Regions from separate parts of the Homo sapiens genome. Here all the other regions are linked to region 1. The links are contacts of gene promoters, found by promoter capture Hi-C in blood cells and fetal thymus (Javierre and others, 2016). All regions are on one chromosome and are shown on one strand. Each heading gives the region's core, a stretch centred on a gene start or on the middle of the fragment in contact. The rest is flanking DNA. Distances are from core to core; before and after follow the strand shown.

Region 1 (2,893 bases), core at 263-2,762:
AAACCTCTGACCTCGGGTGACCCGCCTGCCTCAGCCTCCCAAAGTTCTGGGATTACATGCGTGAGCCACCTTTTCATATCCGTGGGAAAAAGTTCTTAAATGTTTTATTTCCTAATTGGTTCTCGTGTGCGATCTTAACTGTAGTAGGTGGTTACCTTTAGGAACCCAAACTTACCCATCTTTTATGCCCCCATTCACAGCACATGGCAAAGGGTGAAACACCTCGATATTAATTGGTGTTAAGTATGTTTTTCCTTTGTAAATCTCATGAATTATTTATGCTTTTGTACCTTTCTTGAAGGAATACAAAGTGAGAGAGAAGAGCTTAACACCTGAAAAATGTTTCAGTTGCCTGACATTGTCTTTAGCTACAATTGGTTAGACAAACGTTTACAGAGTTCCTACTACACGCAGAGACAGGCATAAATATTCTATTATGGTAAGGCCTTGATCACGGTTGTTATCTCCAGCACCAATCATTGTCTTCTGCACATAATTAACACCCAATACGTATGTGTGGAGTGAAAAAAATGAATGCAGTCGGCCTGCCTGCAAGCAGCTGATATTTTAATGGTGTGAGGGTGAGGGAGATATAAAGGATGAACAAATAAATAAATGAGGAAGGTCATATCAGTGTGATAACCGCTGTGGAGAAAATAAAGCAGGATCATGAATACCACCAACAGCCAGGCAGTTGTTGGCAGACCTGGAGACTCCCATCAGCTGGCGAAGCTGCCCAGCGTAGTGGTTAGCTGCTAGGAGGGCAGCCCCGGGGGAGGTGCACAGCCCTGCCGCTCATTCGCTACGCGGCTCTGGACGAAGGGCTTCACCTCTCTGGCCTCGACTTTCCAATCCCCTAAAACCTACTTCATGAGGGGGAGTCTGAGGAGTTGGTACTAAAGTGCCTGTCAACCTGGCGGGCGCTAGGGAAACGCCGGCAGCGCCGCGGGTCGGGAACTCACCGGCGCGAAGGGCACGGAGAGCCTCGGGCTCCCTCTGCCGATGTCCGCGCTTCCCTGCCCAGGGTCGAGCAAGGCTGAGCTGGGCAAAGTTTTGACCTTGAATGGAGGTCTGGGGGACTAGGGACCGGCGCCCCTCTCTGTCTGCTAGGGCTGGCGGAGACCCGGCAGGCCGGCGAGGGTGCGGGGCCGAGGTGGGCGGCGCTTCCCGGGCGCCTCCGTCAGACGGGAGGCATCGAGGGCTCGGCCAGCTGCCCCGGGCGCCCTGCGCGGCGGCTGGGCACGGGCCGGTCACTGCCCCGGCGCCGGCCTCTCGGACGAGGCCGCCGCGCAGCCACGGCGAGAGGCACCCTCACTACCCCCGCGCCCAGCCGGCTCCCAGCCCTAACGGCAGCCGGCGGGGAGCGACGCCGTCCCACGGCGCGAGGCCGCGGCGGGCGCGCGAGGCGCGGCGCGGGGCGGGGCGGGGCGGGCACATGCGCACAGGCGGCGCAGCCGGCACGCGGCGCTCGCGCTCCCTCCTTAAATGAGCCTGGGCGCCCCGCGCCCGCCACTTCAGTGGATCCCGCGCCGGGGCCGCGGGCGGAGCTGCCTGCCGGTCCCGCGCCGCGCGTCCGCACTCCTCGGCCCTCGGGCGGTCGATGGGACGGGGCGCCGCGGAGCAGGAGGCGGCGCCCGTCGGGGTGCTCGGGCCGCGCGGGAGCCCACTGTGGGGCTCGGGCATGGCGGGCCGCAGGACCTGAGCTCTCCTCAGGGGAGCGGGGAGGCAGCTGCTGGCCGGCGATGGGGACGGAGTGGGGCCGTCGCCGCCGCGCCGAGCCGTGAGCGCCGAGCCACCGCCGCCGCTACCTCAGCCCTTCGCGAAGCGCCGGGCAGCTCGGGAACATGGCCCTGGAGCGGCTCTGCTCGGTCCTCAAAGGTAAGGACCGGGGCTGGGGCCACGGACGGCGCCCCCTGCGGGCCGAGGCTGGCGCGCCGCCCTGCCCGCGCCTCTGCGTCCCTTACCCGCGCCCGGGACCCGACGCGCCTCTTTGTCTGGCGGGGCTCGCGGCTACTCGGAGCGGACCGCGGGGCGCGAGCCCTGCCCGGCTCCGCCGGCTCTCCGGGCGCGCCGCTTCCGACCCCTGCGAGTCCGGCCGACGTTCGCGGGGCGCGTGTGGGAAGAGGGATCGGGTCGGGAAGGCGGCCAGGAGGCCCCTGGGCCCAGCAGGGCCCTCCGGGCTGCGCCCTCGCGCCGCTTCCGTAGAATTCCGCGCATCCCTTTGCAAAGTTGTGAGATTCCTGTCGTGGAGCGGAGGCCGCTCTTTCTCCAGATGTGATGGCAAAAAGTAATTCCACGAGAACAATAAAAGCCGCGGCCGTGACGTCGTGCAGTGGTTTTCGAATAGCCCCGCGGCGCCTGCACCTCGCGGCGGGGAACGGGGCCTGCTGGGCCAGCCGGGTCCCACCTGCTGCGGCCACGGAGGCTGCGGCACCACTGCGGGCTCCGGGGGCGGCGCGCGGGCGCCGCGGACCCGGCTTGTCCCGGCCCCCGGGGAGCGCTGCTGCTCGGGTGCTTCCCGGGACGCGGCGCTCCTCGCGCTCCGCCAGAGGTCTCAGAATTCCCCGCCGCTGGTGTTCGGTTCTTACTAATTTGTTGTACTGGGAATTAAAACAGTTGGCTTGTCCAGAGCACAGAGCTCTAAAACCTACTCCACCGGCTTTGCATTTCCCAGGAGGTGGTAATTTAGATGAAAATTTATATACATAGATAATTAGGATTGGGATACAAAGTTGCTCCTGAAACTCGGACTGAATAAATCGTCTTTTCAATTTCCAGAGGGAAAACAGCACCACCACTCAGTAAAGGACTTCCCTTTTTCCCCCTGCTGATTTAAATTGAAAGCTGACGTGTTTGTAATGTCGTAACATGTTCTTTTTTTAAAAATTTCGAG
Region 2 (3,346 bases), core at 474-2,973, 1.5 Mb before region 1:
CACAGGTGTGCACCACCACACCTGGCTAATTTTTTTATTTGTAGAGACGATATCTCACTATGTTGCCCAGGCTGGTTTTGAACTCCTAGGCTCAAGCAATCCTCCTGTCTTGACCACCCAAAGTGCTGGAATTACAGGTGTGAGCCACTCAGCCCAACCTCAATGAGATCTTTTCTAACTGCCCTACTTAAAATATCGACACCCCTCCCTTCCCAACTCTCCCGACCATCCTTTCCCTGCCTTTCCCCCAATGTGGTCTACTTTTTAATATTGTAAAATGTACATATTTAGATTTGGTATTTATTGCCTGCTCCCCCACTGGAATATCAACCTCACGATCACGAGGGCAGGGAATTGTCTTCTTTTTTTTTTTTTTGGTCTCTTTTAACACTGATGTATTCCAAGCACCCAGAAAGAACCCATGATAGACATTAATAAGTATCCTGAATGAATAATACACCTCAGCCATTCCATGCCATTTGAAACCCAGACATTCTTAAGGTTCAGCGTTACTCCCACTTTCCATAAAAACCAAGTCCTATAGGCTGCCTCTGCATATCACCTCTCTGATCAATTTTATCCTCTCTATGTCCCCAAACATTGCCTGCATTTGAGGCTCTGTCATCTCCCTCTAGCTATGACATCAGCATCCTATCTTTCCTTTCTTTTTTTTTTTTTTTTTTTTGAGATGGAGTTTCACTCTTGTTGCACAGGCTGGAATGCAGTGGTGCCATCTCGGCTCACTGCAACCTCCGCCTCCCAGGTTCAAGTAATTCTCCTGCCTCAGCCTCCTGAATAGCTGGGATTACAGGCACACACCACCACGCCCAGCTAATTTTTGTATTTTTAGTAGAGACGGGATCTCACCATGTTGGCCAGGCTGTTCTTGAACTTCTGACCTCAAGCGATCCACCTGCCTCAGCCTCTCAAAGTGCTGTCTCTCTGTTCTCAATCCTTTCCCCTCCAACCCACCCTACAGAGAGAGGACCTCACAGTGTTAATGTCCTGCTTAAAACCTTTCTATGGCAGGCGGGCATGGTGGCTTACACCTGTAGTACCCCGGGAGACTGAGGCAGGAGGATGGCTCAAGCCCAGGAGTTTGAGTTCAGCCTGGGCAACATAGTGAGACCCTGTCTCAGAGAAAACAAATTTATGAGTTTCAAGTCAAGGCTAAATTGGAAAAAATAAAATAAATTTAACCAGCCTCTCTATGGCCCCCATGGCCTTCTCAGGAAATCCAGTCTCCAGTGGTCCTGAAGCCTTAAGTGGTCTGGACCCACTTCCTGCTGTGCCTGCTCATCCTCACACCATCCCCCACAACATTCCTCAGGCCTGCAGAACATCTTACTGCTGGCCACAGAGCTCTCCTGCAGACATTTTCATCTTCTGCTCTTTCTGCTGAAAATGATCTCCCTGCGTCTTTTTTTTTTAAGAGTCTTGCTATGTTGCCTGGGCTGGTCTTGAACACCTGGATTCCAGATATCCTCCCGCCTCTGCCTTCTTGGTAGCTAAGATTACAGGCATGAGCTGTGCTATTCAGGTTCCCCTGCCTCTCATCAGGCTTGTTCCTACCTTCCTTGGGGACGTCCTCCAGGAAGCCTTCCTTAGCTTCACACCAGGCTGGGTGAGCTGCCTCATATCTGTGTTCACATATCAACTTGTGCTGATCTTGGTCGGCTTTTCTGACTCGGCCATGAGATCATGTGAGCCTTGAGGACGGAGTTTTGTCTTATTTTATAATCCCAGTGAGGCTGGGTGCAGTGGTGTGCATCAGTAAACCCAGGTTCTGCAGTGAGCTATGCAGTGAGCTATGATAATATCTGTGAATAGCCACTACACTCTAGGTTGGGCAACAGAGCAAGACCCCATCTTTAGAAAATAAAAACAGGCCAGGCACAGTGGTTCACATCGGTAATCCCAGGACTTTGGGAGGCCAAGGTGGGTGGATCACCTGAGCTCAGGAGTTTGAGACCAGCTTGGCCAGCATGGCAAAACCCCATCTCTACTGAAAATACAAAAATTAGCTTGGCACGGTGGCGCATGCCTGTAACCCCAGCTACTCAGGAGGCTGAGGCTGGAGAATCGCTTGGACCTGGGAGGCGGAGGTTGCAGTGAGCTGAGATCGTGCCACTGCACTCTGGCTTGGGTGACAGAGCAAGACCCCATCTCAGAAAAAAAAAAAAAGTAAATAATAAATAACAAAACAAATTAAATTTATTATTTAAATTTTTTAAATAACAAATGATAATCCCAGTGAGGATACATCATCTAAATAGTAGGCACTTAGTAAATAAGAAGGGAAGGAAAGCAGGAAGAAGGGAAGAGGGAAAGCAGAAAAGAAGAAAGAAAGGTCTCAAATGCTCAGCTCTCTTTCTGGGCACATGGTGGGGCTGCACCTCTCCACCCACTTGAGCTCGTGCACGGCCATGTGATCTGCTTTGGCCCATGAAGTATGAGTGAAAATGACATGTGTCACTTTTAGGCAGAAGCAGACAGGTCAGTCTGTGGTCTCCATCCTCTTTTTACTGCCTGCTGGGTCACAGAAGCACTTGTTGAGATGGAGTCTCTGTCACACAAGGCCCCTGAGTGACTAAGACAAGCAGAGCCCCTGGTGGACCTGCAGTGGACACACAGCATGGGGTGAGAAAGACACTCTGTTCTTTTGAACTGCTGAGAGTTTAGGGTTTATTATTAACCTAGCACAACCACGTCTCTTCTTTTTTTTTTTTTTTTTTGAGATGGAGTTTCACTCTTGTTCCTCAGGCTGGAATGCAGTGGCGTGATCTCAGATCACTACAACCTCCACCTCCCAGGTTCCAGCGATTCTCCTGCCTCAGCCTCCTGAGTAGCTGAGATTACAGGTGCCCACCCAAAGTACTGGGATTATGGGTGTGACCCACCTTGCCCAGCCACGTCTCTTCTTTTCTTTTTTAATTTCAACTTTTGTTTTAGATGCAGAGGATATACATGCAGGTTTGTTACATGGGTATATTGCATGATGCCGAAGTTTAAGGTACGATTGATTCTGTCACAAGCATAGGACCCAATAAGTAGTTTTCCAACCCCTGCAGCTCTCTTCCTCTACCCTCTAGGAGTCCCCAGTGTCTATTGTTTCCATCTTTGTGTCCCAATACCCAATATTTTGCTCCCACTTATAAGTAAGAACATGGGGTATTTGGTTTTCTGTTTCTATGTTAATTCAAGTGCAGTTGGTTTGAGGTATCAGGGAAAATCGCATCTTTTTACCCTTCTATTTGCTAAGAATATCAGACACTACCTTGCCTTTCCCACTGCTATACAATTTCAATTCCAATTGTCTGTTTTCCATAGATTCTTGCAAAGATGC
Region 3 (2,974 bases), core at 468-2,967, 1.0 Mb before region 1:
CTCCTTGGGCATGGCTCTCTTCCGCCTGGTGGAGCCCATGGCAGGCCGGATTCTCATTGACGGCGTGGACATTTGCAGCATCGGCCTGGAGGACTTGCGGTCCAAGCTCTCAGTGATCCCTCAAGATCCAGTGCTGCTCTCAGGAACCATCAGGTGAGTGCCGGGCCAGCAGGCAGCCTGCAGGAGGTGGGTCACAGGACCAGGATTCCAGCACCGGGCTGCCTATAGTGAGCTGGTGACCAATGCCCCGATTTCCAGGCCTCCTTGGCCTGCTGGGCCACTCATGCCTACCTGGCTTACCTCACTGAAGTACTGTTGAGGATTAAATGAGGCCTCAATATATATAAGAGCACTTTGTAAACCGTAATGTTATACGCAAAAACAAAACATATTTTTATTTTTTAGAAACTGGATGGCATGGTGGTGCACAGCCGTAGTCCGAGCTATTTGGGAGGCTGAGGCAGGAGGATCACTTGAGCCCAGGAGCTCAGGGCTGTAGTACACTATGACTGTGCCTGTGAATAGCCACTGTGCTCCAACCTGGGCAACACAACAAGACCCTGACTCTTATTAAAAAACAAACAAACAAACAAGCAAACAAACAAAAAACAGAAACAAAACCCTGATGGGATTGGTCAGATTTCACTACACCATTAAGCATTTGCACTCAGGCTACCATATTCTTTCTTGTCCAGATGTAGCTTATTCTCTCTGTGCACTGGGCAAAGCCCCTGGGGACGTTTTTAGGAAGTGCTTCTTCAATGGTACACATTCTGGACAGGAGTGATGTGAGAAAAATCCAGGCAGCCCAGTCAGTGAAGCAGACAGAACCAGATCTTCCAGCCTCTTCACTACACTTTCTGTGTCCTCAGAAGTCAACTCAGGGACAAAGCTTTATCCAGATTAGGCTCCTACTGACAATGCACTTTATCTGGGAGGAAACATCAAGGCATGGGGACTGAGGAAGATGGATGCACTAAAAAGCAGGCTAGGTCCCCCCATGTTTTGTGATATTTAAGGAGAATTCTTAGAGCCAGGAGGATAAACTGAACCCCAGAGCTTCATTCATTCATTCCTTCATTCATCCTCCCACTCATTTAACTTGCCTTTTCTGAGCTTCTGCCTGGTCTGGACACTGTGCTAGGGACTGGAGCCAGTTTAATGAATGTACATTTTCCCTGCTCCCCCAGCAGGAGCTCACAGTGTGGGTGGGGAAGATGGTTTTGTACAGGGGTAAGACCCAATAAATCACAGTATGAAGGGGTAATTGTTAGATCAGAGATATGTACAAAATGCTAAGGGAGCTACGACTGGGATGAGTCACTGCCTGAGTGAATCCAGAAAGGCTTCCCAGAGGAGGGGACATTTGATCAGGGTCTTGAAAGCTGAGTAGGAGCTTGCCAGGCAGAAATAGGAGACAAACTCTTTTCAAGGAGAAGGAACAATATGTGCACAGACACAGGGTTTCAAAATGACTGGGTCATGAGGTGGGGCATGGTAGTTCATGCCTGTAATCCCAGCACTTTGGGAGGCCAAGGCAGGGAGATCACTTGAGGCCAGGAGTTTGAGACCAGCCTGGCCAACATGACAAAACCCTGTCTCTGCTAAAAATACAAAAATTAGCCAGATGTGGTGGTGCATGTCTGTAATCCCAGCTACTCGGGAGGCTGAGGCACGTGAATCGCATGAGCCCGGGAGGTGGAGGTTGCAGTGAGCCGAGATCGTGCTACTGCACTCCAGCCTGGGTGACTGAAGGAAACTCTGTCTCAAAACCTTCCCCGCCCCCACACAAAACAACAAAAAAATGGTTGTGTTAGGGGAATGATAAGACATTTAGTGATAGATTTCTATGTTACAGTAGAATGTGGCCAAATCTCCTGTGCGTTGATATGAAGAGTAGTAAAAATATGAACTAACATTTATTGAGCATTTATATGTGCCAACTGAATGCTTTAGTATACTGCCTAATTTAACTCTCCCAGCAACACTGTGAGGCCCCTTCATTATCCCCATTTTACAGATGAAGGCACGGAACTTAGAGAGGAAGGGGACTTGTTTAAAGACACACAAAGAAATGGCGAACATGAGATATAACCCTAGGTGTTCTAAACCCATAATTTGTGATATTTCCCCCCACCTCTTTCTGTAGAAAGAAATGTGGACTTGAAATCCTACCTTAGAACTTAAGGCTCTACCCTTAAGCATCTCTCTGAATGTCTTGATGCCAGCCTGGCTCTCATACTGGCTTGTGGCGTGACCTTGAACAAGCCATTTAAAACTGATAAGAAAGGAGTATACCCATCTCATGGAGGAGAAAATGTCAAATAACCCATCTATGAAAGTGCTTTGGAGATATCAAATGTCATGCAAATAAGACCTGCCTCTTCTTTAGTACACATTAGCCCTACACACAAGATATGCGTGGCTGGCACAACTGGGGAAGGATAAAGCAAGGTTGACAGGTTTCACTCAGGGCTACATGGCTGCATAGCAGGGAAGTGTCTATAGTGCTGCCTGTTCCAGATGCAAGTGTAAAGCTTGCTGGGTGTAAAGTCCAGATAGATTCCCTCTCTCATGTCAGTTACCTGGATGTTAGGATTCTTTTCACTGCAAGAAACAGAAAGTCCAGCCCCCCAACAATGAGCTACCACTTCACACCTACTAGAATGGCTATAACAATAATAAAAGGTAAATAGCAAGTATTATTAACAAGGATGTGAAAAAATTGAAACTCTCATGCATTGCCAGTGGGGATGTAAAATTGTGCAGAGACCATGGAAAACAATTTGGCAATTCCTCAAAAAGGTAAACAAAAATTAGCTGGGCATGGTGGTCTGTGCTTGCAATTCCAGCTACTCAGGAGACTGAGGTGGGAGGCTTGCTTGAGCCCAAGAGGTCAACGCTGTAGTGAGCTGTGTTTGCACCACTGCACTCCAGCCTCGTAGACAGAGTGAGACCCTGTCTCAAAAAAAAA
Region 4 (3,191 bases), core at 182-2,681, 1.0 Mb before region 1:
TCACCTTCTACCAGCCACAGATTCTCACGTGGCCCCAGGGAGAAGGCTTTCCCTGCCACTGAATTTCCCCCGGACACCTGCAGTCAGACCCCCTGTTCTTTCTTGAAGACCAATAGCAGCCGAGAGAGCAATGGAACCATGGCAGACCTGGGCAACATTGCAGACAATCCTCAACTGTCCTTCTACCAGCTGGTGTACGGGCTCAACGCCCTGCTCCTCATCTGTGTGGGGGTCTGCTCCTCAGGGATTTTCACCAAGGTCACGAGGAAGGCATCCACGGCCCTGCACAACAAGCTCTTCAACAAGGTATGGGCCTGGGTGCTGGGTGGGGCCGAAGGCTGAGCTCTGAACTTGCCCAGCTTCATTTTTATTTTTTTATTTTTTTATTTTTTAGAGCTCTGTAGCCCAGGCTGGAGTGCAGTGGCACAATCTCCACTCATGGCAACCTCCACCTTCCAGGCTGAAGTGATCCTCCTGCCTCAGCCTCCCAAGTAGCTGGGAGTACAGGCACATGCCACTAGATCTGACTAATTTTTGTATTTTTTGTAGAGACTGGGTTTCACCACGTTGCCCAAGGTGGTCTCAAACTCCTGGGTTCCAGTGATCCATCCACCTCGGCCCCCCAAAGTGCTGGGATTACAGGCATGAGCCACCACCCCCGGCCTATTTTTTTTTTATTAGTAGACCTTAATTATTTATTTATCTGTAGAGATGGGGTCTTGCTCTGTTTGCCCAGGCTAGTCTCAAAATCCTGGGCTAATGCAATCCTCCCACATTGGCCTCCTAAGTAGCTAGAATTACAGGTGTGAGCCACCATGCCCGGCCAACTTTATTTTATTATTATTTTTTATTATATTTTAAGTTTTAGGGTACATGTGCACATGCAGGTTAGTTACATATGTATACATGTGCCATGTTGGTGTGCTGCACCCAGTAACTCGTCATTTAACATTAGGTATATCTCCTAATGCTATCCCTCCCCCGTCCCCCAACCCCACAACAGGCCCCAGTGTGTGATGTTCCCCTTCCTGTGTCCTTGTGTTCTCATTGTTCATTTCCCACCTATGAGTGAGAACATGTGGTGTTTGGTTTTTTGTCCTTGCAATAATTTTCTGAGAATGATGGTTTCCAGCTTCAGGATTATAAATCATGCTGCTGTAAAGATAAATGCACATGTATGCACACGTATGTTTATTGTGGCACTATTCACAATAGCAAAGACTTGAAACCAAGCCAACTTTATTTTTTGAGCACTTTTCGTTTACAGAAAAATTGAGATGAAAGTACAGAGAGTTCTCATATACCTGCCTATCACTCAGGCTGGAGTGCAGTGGTGTGATCACAGCTTACTGCAGTCTCGACCTCCTGGGCTGAAGCAGTCCTCCCTACCTTAACCTCCGAGTAGCTGGGACCACAGGGGCACACCACCATGCCTGGCTAATTTTTGTATTTTTGTGGAGACAGGTCTTGCCATGTTGCGCAGGCTGGTCTTGAACTCCTGGGCTCAAGCCATCTGCCCATCTCAGCCTCCTAAAGTGCTGGGATTACAGTTGTGAGTCACTGCACCTGGCCCATTTCTCTTATTCTTAACATCTTGCATTAACGTGGGACATTTGTTACAATTGATGAGTCAATATTGGTACATTATTAATTACTATTATTAATGAATATCCATAGTTCACCTTATGGTGCATTCTTTGTGCTGTGCATTCTATGGGTTTTGAAAAATGTATAATGACATGTATCCATGGTACAGAATAGTTCCGCCGCCATAAACAAAACCCTGTGTCCCACCTATTCATCCCTCCCTCCCTACCCTCAAACTCCCAGCAACCACTGATCTTTTTTACTCTCTTCATAGCTTTGCCTTTTCTAAAATGTAGTTGCAGCTGGGTGAACCAGGCTGCTTGGTGAGAAGGGAGTGATGAAAGTGCGGTGGAGCTCTCCTGCTGGAAGTCTGGTTCTAAGAGCTCAGTGTCCCCTGATGGAGGGCCACAGTGACGCTGGCCTCCACTGGCTGAGCATGGTCATATACAGAGTTGCTTATGATTGCCCTGAGTTCTCTTTGAAGTGGATATTATCCTCATTTTACATATGAGGAAACTGAAATCTCACATATGTTAAAGTTGGAATATGTGTTTGGTTAGAATACTGAATTGTCAGCTGGGTGCAGTAGCTCACGCCTGGAATCCCAGCATTTTGGGAGGCCTGAGGTGAGTGGATTGCTTGAGCTCAGGAGTTCGAGACCAGCCTGGGCAACAAGGCAAAATCTTGTCTCTACCAAAGATATAAAAATTAGCCGGACATGGGGGCTTGTGCCTGTAGTCCCAGCTACTTGGGGGACTGAGGATCAAGGAGGATCGCTTGAGCCAGGGAGGTGGAGGTGGCAGTGAGCTGAGATCATGCCACTGCACTCCAGCCTGGGAGACAGTGAGACCCTATCTCATTTAAAAAAAAAAAAACCAAATTGCTTATGGTATCACACTGCTTCTTGGAAATGTCATTCCTCTCTCTCACTTACTAAGTGTTACTATGTGCCAGGTTCTGCAGTGGGCATGAGGCTTACATTAGAGAATGCACAGTGCAGGTAGGGTTTGGGCCATCATGGATGTATAGTCTAATGGGGGAGATGGACAAGAAAACAGGCCATTGTCGTAGATATGTAAAGTTTATCACGGGATGGAGCACACAGGGCCATGAGAACATAAGAGGCACCTTGTCTTAGCTTGAGGGCAGGGGAAGAAAGTGGGGAGAGTCCAGAAAGCCTTCTTGGGGACTTCACTCCTTGAAGGAGGAATCAGATTTAGCCAGCTCAAGACCAGGAGACTGAAGGTGAACAAAAGCAGAGCACTTCTGGGAGGAGAATGGAGCTCTGGAAGGCTAATCTCAGAGGTGGGAGTGGGGGTTTTGACTTGGAGACGCAGGAGGTGAGGAGCGGCCCATCGTTCCTTGTAGACTGAATGCAAATTGTGTTGCCATGAAGTGTTTCAACTTTGGCAGGGTGAGACAAAGCTTTTCCCCACCTCTCAGATAAAGCTTGGCAGAACCAGAAAGCAGGAGGGGGAAATTCTACCTGAGGCCTGACACTTTCCCACCCGGCCTCTGGGGGTGGCCCTCGGCCCTCAAGGTGGTCTCTGAGTTTCTTTTGATGGCACATTCCAAGATTCTAGAAATATCCAGTGCCCATGCCT

The links. The method cuts DNA at HindIII sites, captures the fragments that hold promoters and counts their contacts. A CHiCAGO score of 5 or more calls a contact.
Region 2: a fragment that was not itself captured here is called in contact with the fragment with the promoter of NETO2 in region 1 in 1 of 17 cell types (naive CD8 T cells); the score reaches 5.4 in naive CD8 T cells.
Region 3: a fragment that was not itself captured here is called in contact with the fragment with the promoter of NETO2 in region 1 in 11 of 17 cell types (naive CD8 T cells, megakaryocytes, naive B cells and 8 more); the score reaches 10.6 in naive CD8 T cells.
Region 4: a contact is called between a fragment that was not itself captured here and the fragment with the promoter of NETO2 in region 1, in 1 of 17 cell types (naive B cells). The highest score is 5.5, in naive B cells.

What each region holds. Positions count from the first base shown.
Region 1 is chr16:47,142,564-47,145,456 of GRCh38, reverse strand. NETO2 (neuropilin and tolloid like 2) reads left to right here and starts at 1,512. Exons shown (of 9, transcript NM_018092.5): 1 at 1,512-1,878. The coding sequence starts at 1,845. It overlaps ITFG1-AS1 (ITFG1 antisense RNA 1), which reads right to left and starts at 1,389. Exons shown (of 4, transcript NR_110904.1): 1 at 963-1,389. RefSeq lists silencers at 982-1,311, 1,372-2,211, 2,382-2,531. The HindIII fragment of the contact is 8,905 bases long and covers 1-2,893 here.
Region 2 is chr16:48,631,793-48,635,138 of GRCh38, reverse strand. The region is part of intron 1 of LOC105371240 (a long non-coding RNA gene); the gene reads right to left. Among named protein-coding and RNA genes, the nearest start is that of N4BP1, 23 kb to the right of the region's middle. The HindIII fragment of the contact is 5,727 bases long and covers 1-3,346 here.
Region 3 is chr16:48,172,437-48,175,410 of GRCh38, reverse strand. ABCC11 (ATP binding cassette subfamily C member 11) reads left to right here. Exons shown (of 30, transcript NM_001370497.1): 26 at 1-153. Among named protein-coding and RNA genes, the nearest start is that of ABCC12, 18 kb to the right of the region's middle. The HindIII fragment of the contact is 1,645 bases long and covers 895-2,539 here.
Region 4 is chr16:48,189,635-48,192,825 of GRCh38, reverse strand. It overlaps ABCC11 (ATP binding cassette subfamily C member 11), which reads left to right. Exons shown (of 30, transcript NM_001370497.1): 20 at 109-306. Among named protein-coding and RNA genes, the nearest start is that of ABCC12, 35 kb to the right of the region's middle. The HindIII fragment of the contact is 3,166 bases long and covers 1-3,014 here.